Regions from separate parts of the Homo sapiens genome. Here region 2 is linked to region 1. Evidence: promoter capture Hi-C in human tissues and cell types (Jung and others, 2019). All regions are on one chromosome and are shown on one strand. The core of a region is centred on a gene start or on the middle of the fragment in contact, and the rest is flanking DNA. Distances in the headings are between cores, read along the strand shown.

Region 1 (5,450 bases), core at 930-3,429:
CCTGCACAGACAGTTTAGCAGTGACCGGGCTCTAAAATTACAGAATTCTGGTATCAACAATCAGCTCCCATTTTGCACAATAGGTTTCACTCTGGCATGCATTTCATATGGCCCTAAATATTCAATCAGGCAGTATCAATTCTGTGTTGCGAACACAGCCTTCTTTGGATTCTTGCCCTGACCTGTGAGACGCCTCCTGCTTTTCTTCCTCTGAGAATATTTACCAACCAAATCACTGTAACACTTGCCACAGGTTAACTTTTTAAACACCGCATGCAAAGAAACTGAGCTTTGAGAATAGAATTCATTTTTGACACATGACAGAGCTCCAAAAGAGGCAAGATTTCAACAACAACAACAAAAAACACACACACACATCCATGATGCAGACTAGTCACTTTAAGAAAATCTTGAAAGGTCGGGCGCGGTGACTCACGCCTGTAATCCCAGCACTTTGGGAGGCCAAGGTGGGCAGATCACTAGGTCAGGAGATTGAGACCATCCTGGCCAACACGGTGAAACCCCATCTCTACTAAAAAAATACAAAAAATTAGCCTGGCATGGTGGCGGGCGCCTGTAGTCCCAGCTACTCAGGAGGCTGAGGCAGGGGAATGGCGTGAACCCAGGAGGCGGAGGTTGCAGTGAGCGGAGATCGTGCCACTGCACTCCAGCCTGGGTGACAGAGCGAGACTCTGTCACAAAAAAAAAAAAAAAGAAAGAAAGAAAAAGAAAATCTTCATGATGCAAGAGTCAGGCACTCTGGCTTACCAAGGAATCCTGTCATGTTGATTCCTTTTAGAAGCTTCAGTTCAAAGCAGAGCACAAAGATCACAAAAAAGAAAGTAGGTCAGGCATAGTGGCTCATGCCTGTAATCCCAGCACTTTGGGAGGCCGAGGTGGGTGGATTACCTGAAGTCAGGAGTTCGAGACCACCCTGGCCAACCTGGTGAAACCCCATCTCTACTAAAAATACAAAAAAAATCCAGGTGTGGTGGTGTGTGCCTGTAATCCCAGCTACTCGGGAGGCCGAGGCAGGAGAATTGCATGAACCCGGGAGGCGGAGTTTGCAGTGAGCCGAGATCGTGCCACTGTACTCCAGCCTGGGCGACAGAGCGAGATTCTGCCTCGAAAAAAAAAAAAAAAAGTAAATCTCGATGCAAGAGTCAGGCACTCTGGCTTACCAAGGAATCCTGTTATGATGATTTATTTTAGAAGCTCCAATTCAAAGCAGAGGACAAAGATCGCTAAAAAGGAAACAGCCTACCAATAAGTTTCCTCAAAGCTTTCTTCATCTCCTTATTTCTCAGGCTGTAGATGAAGGGGTTCATCATTTGAGGGACCACAGTGTACATCACTGAAGCCACAGCAGTAATTCGGGAAGACTCAGCAACAGCAGAACTAATGTACACCCCAAAAGCTGTCCCATAGAACAAGGAAAAAACAGAGAGGTGACAGCCACAGGTGGAAAACGCTTTATACTTTCCTCTTGCTGATGGCATTCTCAGAACAGAGGTGACTATTTGAGAATAAGAGAAAATTATTCCAGAGAGAGGAATTGCACCAAATACACTACTTGCAAAATATATGAGGATGTTGTTGATGAGGGTGTCAGAACAGGCGAGCTTGATGACCTGAACGACTTCACAGAAGAACAAAGGGATTTCAACGTTTTTGCAGAAGGACAGCTGCAATACCATCAGACTCTGAACCAGGGCATCCATAGTGCTCATGAACATGGAGAGAAGAATCAGCAAGCCCCAGAAATGGACATTCATGAGGACTGTGTACCTCAGTGGGTGGCAAATGGCCACATAGCGGTCGTAGGCCATGACTGCAAGAAAGCAACTTTCCAAGCCAGCAAAAACCAAGACAAGACAGATCTGGGTGAGGCAGCCTGTGTAAGTGATACTCTGATTCTGAGCTTGGATGTTCACTAGGATCTTTGGGACTGTGGTTGTGGTTAAACAGATGTCAGTAAAGGAGAGATTAAAGAGAAGGAAGTACATGGGGGTGTGGAGGTGGGAGTCAGAGATGACAGCCAGGAGAATGAGCAGGTTCCCCAGGATGGTGACCAGGTACATGGACAGGAACAGGCTGAAAGGGATTAACTTCAGTTCTGGGTCCTCTGTCACTTTCATGAGAAGAAATTCTGAAACAGCTGTTTGGTTTCTGGGTCCCATGTTTTTGATGATCAAAAAATGGGATAATTAGACAATCAAATGTGTTTTCTAGACTGCGGGAGCAACGTCAACAGAGGCAAACACCATCTTGAAAAGGGGTAGATTCTAAGGGAAGAAAATAAATAAGTGTTGCCTTTTGTATTGATATTACTTTACTGCTTTTACAAAACTTGAAGCTAATACAGCACAGCATCAATAATTGTTAATTCTGGAAATGGTTAAGGGGTCATCATTTTTTATTTTTATTTATTTATTTTTTAAATTTATTTATTTATTTTTGAGACAGAGTCTTGCTCTGTGGCCAGGCTGGAGTGCAGTGGCTTGATCCTGGCTCACTGCAACCTCTGCCTCCTGGTTTCAAGCAATTCTCCTGCCTGAGCCTCCCAAGTAGCTGGGATTAAAGATGCTTGCCACAACACCTGGCTAATTTTTGTATTTTTAGTAGAGACGGGGTTTTGCCATGTTGGCCAGGCTGCTCTCAAATGCCTGGCCTCAAGTGATCTGCCCAACTTGGCTTCCCAAAATGCTGGGTTTACAGGCGTGAGCCACCACGCCCAGCCTCATCTTTTTTTTTTTGAGATGGAGTTTCGCTCTTGTTGCCCAGGCTGGAGTGCAGTGGCACAAACTTGGTTCACTGCAACCTCCGCCTCCCAGGTTCAAGCGATTCTCCTTCCTCAGCCTCCTGAGTAGCTGGGATTACAGGCATGTGCCACCACTCTGCTGTTCTGATTATTAAAAATATTTGGTAATGAAAAAACAAAAAATAAATAAAATAAAACAAAGTACATACCAGGAAAACGGCTGGAAGACTCTGTCTGGACCCCCAGAGACTTCACGCCAGCCAACAGAAATAATACAAAGCTGTGTCAAGAACCAGGAAAGGAGAATCGCTTGAACCCAGGGGGCGGAGGTTGCAGTGAGCTGAGATCATGCCATTATACTCCAGCCTGGGCAACGGAGCAAAACTCCATTAAAAAAAAAAAAAACACCACAGGAAAGTGAAGATAAGGTGAAGTTTAGCAAGCTGCTCACCTCCTCTCCCCCACAAGACTGCAAGTAAATTACAGAGAATTTTATAACAGTCATCCTGTTTTCAAAGAAAATGGTAACTACAGAATTCAGGATAGTGTATTTGTTGCTGGAAGAAAACAAGGTGATTTGAGTAGAAAATCCTACAGGTAGGTTCTATGGTGATGACATTAACTTATTTTTAATGCCAGATAGGTATATGCGGTTTTATCATGTTACTATTCTCTCAGAATTACAGATAGATTTTTTTTTTTTTCCTGAGACAGTGTCTCGTTCTGTCGCCCAGGTTGGAGTGCAGTGGCACGATCTCGGCTCACAGCAAGCTCCGCCTCCCAGGTTCACGCCATTCTCCTGCCTCAGCCTCCTGAGTAGCTGGGACTACAGACGCCCGCCACCACGGCCGGCTAATTTTTTGTATTTTTAGTAGAGACGGGTATCACTGCGTTAGCCAGGATGGTCTCCATATCCTGACCTTGTGATCTGCCCACCTCCGCCTCCCAAAGTGCTGGGATTACAGGCGTGAGCCACTGTGCTCTACACTACCTACAGATAGATAGATTTTATGCATTACTTTGTATATGATAATGTAACAAGTATGATTAAAGAAAGACCCTTCATATTCTAACCCTAAATATGTTTTCTCATGTTCTCCTAATATTAAAGTTAGGAGTGTCAGGCTTCAGAGGTTATCAGCATCTCTCCAAGTGCTTATTAAAAATTCTCATACCTCACACATTTCTCAGAGATTTAACACCAGTAGTTCTCGGGCAAGGCCAAGAACCTTCTCTATGAGGAAAGGTCTCGGGTGGTTCCTCTCTGTGTCTGTTCTGTGGACACCAACAGAGGAATCTCAGTCCTAGGAGACTCTATGAGTGCTAGAATAGGAGCTGCGTTCCAGATATGTAAGAGCTTTTTGTTTTGTTTTGGGGGTTTTTTAGAGACAGGATCTTGCCATGTTGCCCAGGCTGGTCTCAAACTCCTGGCCTCAAGCAATCCTCACGCTTCAGCCTCCCAAGTAGCTGGGACTACAGCCACGAGCCACCATGCCTGGCTTCCCAGATATTTTGGTGAAAATAAAGCCAGCTCCTCAAGCTCCAAAGACAGCTGCAACAGAAGACTCTCCACCCACTCCTTTGATTCTCTTTTGACACCTCCATTGTTTGCTCCTCACACTTAGAGAGATAATTCTGACTGATGATCCTGCGTGTGTGTGTGTGTGTGTGTGTGTGTGTGCTTATAGAAAAAAATTATGCCCCAAAATCTTGCCAACTTCCATTTTCTCCTGTCTTGTCTTACACTCGACATCTCCTTCTCAAATGAAAGTATTTCTCTACAGAGTAATCTTCCTAGTGAAGACACAGTAAACAGTTTTGCACGGGAGCACTGAGACTACAGCTAATCCTAAAATTATACAATTAGAATATATTTGTGTAATATACATATAATTATACATATAGAGGATTATATATATATGTATATCTCCAGGTGTGGTGGCACTCACTCATTTGTAGTTCCAGCTACTCAGGGTCGCTGAGGCCCAGGAGTTCAAGGCTGCAGTGAGCCATGATCGTGGCACTGCACTCCAGCCTGAGTGACAGAGTGAGACCCTGTCTCTAATAAACAAGTAAATAAAAATAAAATTTAAAAAGAAAATTTCTATTACAAATAGACTCTCTTCACAGCAGACCTACAGAAAGACCGTCGGTTTTCTCTGAGCACCATGTCTGAATATGATGCCTACATTTCTGCAGACATCTGTTTGCAAGAGGAAAATCAGCACAGACATGGAGCCATCTTCCCGAGGCTTGCATGAATCCCCACACTACTGCTCCCATGCATTTCTTACCCCTGAAGTTCTTGTCATAAAAAATAACTCTGTTTCTTATTCATGTAAATTATAGTCAGAGTTTCTTTCTCTTATAAGAAATAAAAGCTTCTGGCTGGGCACAGTGGCTCATGAATGCGGTGGTCACTGGTACATTGTAGTCTCTGCCTCCCTAGCGGCTCAATTGCCAAAGCTCCTCATTAGCCAAGGAATTTGTGTTGGCACTGTAATCCCAGGGTGCTTAAATCCTTGCAGAACAAGGGAGAAATTCAGGATGGCTGCTGTCCTGACCCTAGAGGCCAAGTGTACATCATCCACTTTTCTTTTTTTCTTTCTTTTTTTTTTTTTTTGAGATGGAGTCTTGCTCTTTCACCCAGCCTGGAGTGCAGTGGCGCAATCTCGGCTCACTGCAACCT
Region 2 (5,450 bases), core at 1,885-4,384, 470 kb after region 1:
AACACCTGATTTTTTTTAGATAGGGTGGGCACGTAGAAGAAAAGTGGAGAGGAAGGGGAAGGGATGTCTGTAGTGAGCTAGAAAGTCCTCTTTCTAAGTAAGGAAAGGTATGTGAGCTGGTACTGATAACGCTTTGTACTGTGGCATGCCTGGGCATCTAACAAAGGCAAAAAGGAGAAAAAAGGAGAAAAAGGGGGGGTACTATGAATTAGAGAATAAAAGATTGATGAGATTATTTGAAGAGAAACCTCATCATATCCTCATATCCCACAGTGTGACTCTCCAAAAGTCAATATAATATACAATAATAACTGTTCTAGGTAAAAAGACACTGAAAACATTAACAATTGCAATGTAAAAATCTTGAATGGATCTTAAACCCAAAAACATCCAAGAGCATACGTTGAATCAATGCGGAGAATTTTAGTTATTATAAAAAGCAGACATTAGATGACATTATTATTTTTTATTTAAGTGAAATACTAGTATTGTGGTTTCAGAATGACAGTGCTATTTTTTTAGGCGATGCATTACCAAGTATTTAAAGGTCAAGTATCACGTGTGCAATTATGCTCAATTTACACTCAAATTGTTCACCATAAAATGTATTTACCTGAGGTGAAAGAAAACAAGCACAATGCTCAAAAAGTAAGTGTTCAGGCACAGTGGCTCACACCTGTAATCCCAGCATTTTGGGAGGCCGAAGCAGGTGAACTGCCTGAGCTCAGGATTTCGAGACCAGCCTGGCCAACATGGTGAAACCTTGTCTCTACTAAAATACAAAAAAAAATTAGCTGGGCATGGCGGCATGTGCCTGTGTCCCAGCTACTAGGTGTCAGGCCTCTGAGCCGAAGCCAAGCCATCAGACTCCCTGTGACCTGCACGTATACATCCAGATGGCCTGAAGCAACTGAAGAACAACAAGAAGAAGCGAAAATAGCTAGTTCCTGCCTTAACTGATGACATTCCACCATTGTGATTTGTTCCTGCCCCAACCTAACTGATCAATTGACCTTGTGACATTCCTTCTCCTGGACAATGAATCTCAGGAGCTCCCCACTGAGCACCTTGTGATCCCCGCCCCTGCCCGCAAGAGAACAACCTCCTTTAACTGTAATTTTCCACTATCTACCCAAATCCTATAAAACTGCCCGACCCCTATCTCCCTTTGCTGACTCCTTTTCTGAACTCAGTCTGCCTGCACCCAGGTGATTAAAAGCTTTATTGCTCATACAAAGCCTGTTTGGTGGTCTCTTCACATGGACGCACCTAATGCTAGGGAGGCAGGAGAATTACTTGAACCTGGGAGGCAGAGGTTGCAGTGAGCCGAGATCGCACCTCTGCACCCCGACCCGGGTAGCAGAGCGAGACTCTGTCTCAAAAAAAAAAAAAAAAAAACTACTAGACTGGGTGTGTTAGATGTTCAAGTTTTCCCTAGGATCAAATTTTTCAGAAAAAAATGTCAAAACTACACTTAGTCTAAACATGCTGTTAATAAATTCAATAGATACTACTTTATTACACTAATACTAGAATAATATTCTGATTATAAAGCCTCCATCCTGGCCAGGAGCGGAGGCTCACGCCTGTAATCCCAGCTCTTTGGGAGGCCGTCAGGCGGATTACAAGGTCAGGAGTTCGAGACCAGCCTGGCGAGCATGGTGAAACCCTGTCTCCACTAAAAATACAAAAAAAAAAAATTAGCTGGGCATGGTCCCCATGCCTGTTGTCCCTGCTACTCGGAGGCTGAGGCAGGAGAATCACTTGAACCCAGGAGGTGGAGGTTGCAGTGAGCTGAGATCGCGCCACTGCACTCCAGCCTGGGCGACAGAGCAAGACTCCGTCTGAAAAAAACAAACAAAAGCCTCCATCCTTTCTTCCTGTGGGCCCGTTTTGAAGCTCTGTGGGGGGGTACAGACCTAGGAACTTCAGATAAAGACAACAGCTGTGTATTATTGCCTTTCTTTCTTTTTTGAGACGGAGTTTCGCTCTCATCGCCCAGGCTGGAGTGCAGTGGCAGATCTCGGCTCACTGCAACCTCGGCCTCTCAGGTTCAAGCAATCCTCCTGCCTCAGCCTCCCAAGTAGCTAGGATTACAGGGGACTGCCACCAAGCCTGGCTTTTTTTTTTTTTTTTTTTTTTTTGTGTGTGTGAGACGGAGTCTCCCTCTTTTGCCCAGGCTGGAGTGCAGTGGCGCGATCTCGGCTCACTGCAAGCTCCGCCTCCCGGGTTCACGCCATTCTCCTGCCTCAGCCTCCCGAGTAGCTGGGACTACAGGCGCCCGCCATCGCGCCTGGCTAATTTTTTGTATTTTTAGTAGAGACAGGGTTTCACCATGTTGGCCAGGCTGGTCTCGAACTCCTGACCTCAGGTGATCTGCCCGCCTCGACCTCCCAAATGGCTGGGACTACAGGCGTGAGCCAGCGCGCCCAGCCTGCCTTTCTTTTGTAGAAAGGCTTGTAGCTGGTAACAACAAAAAACATTAAGTCCAAGAAAATAAAATAAGAAACTAAAGGCTCACAGTCTACACGTGTTCATATTTACATGCAGATATAGGCACACCCTAAACGACTATTTTTTTTCCATCAGAAAGTAATGTGTCAAAAATAAGAATAGGACATCAATGCCAGATTCTCAGACGAGACATTTTTAAGCAAAGAAATGGAAGTCAGAGCCCTCTTGAAACCAATTTTCTGCAGGTGTTCACCAGGAACATGCCGGAAACGCCAGGTTCCTGAGGCGCGGAAATGCGGGGCCGGAGCCAACCTGACTGGAACGGCAGAAATCCTTTTACTTTCAGAAAGAAAGAAACTCACAAAGGTTGCTTTCCAAGCTTTTGAAGAAGGGAGCACAGCGGATGAAACCACTCCAGAAAACGCGCGGAGTCGGGACAAACACACTTCCCGACCTGGCTCCTGACTGGGACCCACTGAGCCTGCGGCCTCTAGCCACTGGCCGCGCAAGGAGGACCGACAGCCCCTGGAGAAGAGAGTGAAACGAGGCGGATCGGAGAGGCTCCTGGGCGACAGCACCCAATCGTTCCTTTGCCGCCCCCCGCTATCTCCGGGATCCCCAAGCAGGCGGAACTCACCACAGCCAGGGTGGACTCCACCACGATAAAGGCGAAATGGCACTGACCATGCGGAGCCAGCGCCGGAAAAGATGGCGATTGTGCGCTGACGTCACTTCCGCTCCGAGCCTCGGGCCGGGCGGGGCTCCTGGGTTCGAGTTTCAGCCACATAGGACCCAGTCAAACACAGAAATTGTAGTTTCTTCCCGGGTGGGCGCGGACAGGCCCTTACTTGGGGGCGGTTTAGAGGTGGGACCCGGCTAGCCGGCGGTTCAGGTGGCCGGACCTGCTGGAAGGGCGGGCGTGGGGGATGGGACGCACCCCAGGGGATGCTCCTGCAGAGCTTTTCCCAGGTGGGCACAGTGGCTAAGGCCTGTAAGTCCAACACTTTGGGAGGCTAAGGCAGGTGGATAGCTTGAGTCCAAGAGTTCAAGACCAGCGTGGGCAAAATAGCAACATCCTTTATTAAAATATATATGTGTGTATACATATATATAAAGCTTGTTTGTATACATCTCATGTTCCTAGAGCCTTTCCATGATTCTTCCATATGGATAAAGCTGCCAGTGAATGGCATGGTCTATCTCTTCTATTCAGTCAGGCTTTCTGTAGGCCTTTATTTCTTCATTCTTTATTTTTTAGAACCTGCTGGTTCCATTGCGTTTTCTTTTTTCGTTTTTCTTTTTCATTTTTTATTTTTTTTTGAGACAGATCTCACTCTGTTGCCCAGGCTGGAGTGCAGTGGCATGACCTCGGCTCACTGTAACCTCTGCCCCCCGGGTTCAAGTGATTCTCCTGCCTCAACCTCCCGAGTAGCTGGGATTACAGATGTCTGCCTCCACGCCCAGCTAATTTTTGTACTTTTAGTAGAGAAGAGTTTCACCATGATGGCCAGACTGATCTCGAACTCCTGACCTCCAATGATCTGTCTCCCTCAGCTTCCCAAAGTGCTGGAATTATAGACATGAGCCACCGCACCCGGCCACGTTTTCAATATAATAATATTTTCTGTAAATCTTGATTTTTTTTTGTCTTCATCAAGTATGTATTTCTGGCTGGGTATGGTGGCTTATGCCTATAATCCCAGCAATTTGGGAGGCCAAGGGATCGTTTGAGGCCAGGAGTTTGAGACCAGCCTGGGCAATACAGCAAGACCCCGTCTCTGTTTAAAAAAAATTTTAAATATGTTTTTGTTTTTGTTTTGAGATGGAGTCTAGCTCTGTTGCCCAGGCTGGAGTGCAGTGGCACGATCTTGCTCACTGCAACCTCTGCCTCCCGGGTTCAAGCGATTCTTCTCTCTCAGCCTCCTGAGTAGCAGAGATTACAGGCAGGCGCCGCCATGCCCGGCTAATTTTTGTATTTTTAGTAAAGACAGGGTTTCACCATATTGGCCCAGTTGGTCTCGAACTCCTGACCTCATGATCCGCCTGCCTCACCTTTCCAAAGTGCTGGGATTACAGATGTGAGCCACCACGCCTGGCCAAAAACATGTATTTCTATTGTTATTTTTCTGATCTTCCCACATGGGCCAGGACCACATTTCCTACATTGTAAAATAGCACTGACACCAGACATTCTCCCCAGGTTTATTCAGAAATGTAACATAATCCCAGTAAAAATATTAAAAGTTTTTTCTGGAGTTAGGTACGTTGATACTAAAGTTTATGTGGAAGAATAAATATCTGATAATAACCAAGAAAACAAAAACAAAAGCAATGATGAGCAGCAGATGTTAAAACATACTATTAACAGTTTTCACACAAGGCAAATAATTAAATTATATTAAAATAAAAATAAATAAGACATACTATAAAGCCTCTATAATTAAAACTATGTGGTACTAGCACATGAAGCAGAAACAGACTAATAAAATATCTAAAAACAGACCCAAGAACATGTAGGAATTTGGTTCATAAATGTGGTATTTTGCCAGGCGCGGTGGCTCATACCTGTAATCCTAGCAATTTGGGAGGCTGAGGCGGGAGGATCACCTGAAGTCAGGAGTTCGAAACCAGCCTGTCCAACATGGTGAAACCCTGTCTCTAATAAAAATACAAAAATAAAATTAGCCAAGCATGGTGGTGGGCTTTCTGTAATCCCAGCTATTCGGGAGGCTGAGGCAGGAGAATCGCTGAAACCCAGAAGGCAGAGGTTGCAGTGAGCCGAGATCGCGCCACTGGACTCCAGCCTGGGCAACAAGAGTGAAAATCCATCTCAAAAAAAAAAAAAAAAGGTATTTCAGATCAATGAGGCAAAAAAAGCCATTTGTAATGGAAAGTCTAAGACAGCTGGGTAGCCATCAGAGAAAAGATGAAATTAAATCCATACTTCACAGCATATACAAGAATAAACTCTAAATGGACTAGGGATCTAAATGTGA

The links. The method cuts DNA at HindIII sites, captures the fragments that hold promoters and counts their contacts. A contact is called where the count stands out against the background at its distance.
Region 2: the fragment with the promoter of ZNF121 here is called in contact with the fragment with the promoter of OR7G1 in region 1 in 2 of the 25 tissues and cell types used here (adrenal gland and aorta).

Annotation. Positions count from the first base shown.
Region 1 is chr19:9,113,584-9,119,033 of GRCh38, forward strand. OR7G1 (olfactory receptor family 7 subfamily G member 1) reads right to left here and starts at 2,180. Exons shown (of 1, transcript NM_001005192.2): 1 at 1,245-2,180. The coding sequence starts at 2,180. The coding sequence ends at 1,245. The HindIII fragment of the contact is 5,916 bases long and covers 1,043-5,450 here.
Region 2 is chr19:9,581,370-9,586,819 of GRCh38, forward strand. It overlaps ZNF121 (zinc finger protein 121), which reads right to left and starts at 3,135. Exons shown (of 4, transcript NM_001008727.5): 1 at 3,092-3,135. RefSeq lists enhancers at 273-1,086, 1,087-1,899, 2,714-3,525. The HindIII fragment of the contact is 2,529 bases long and covers 2,027-4,555 here.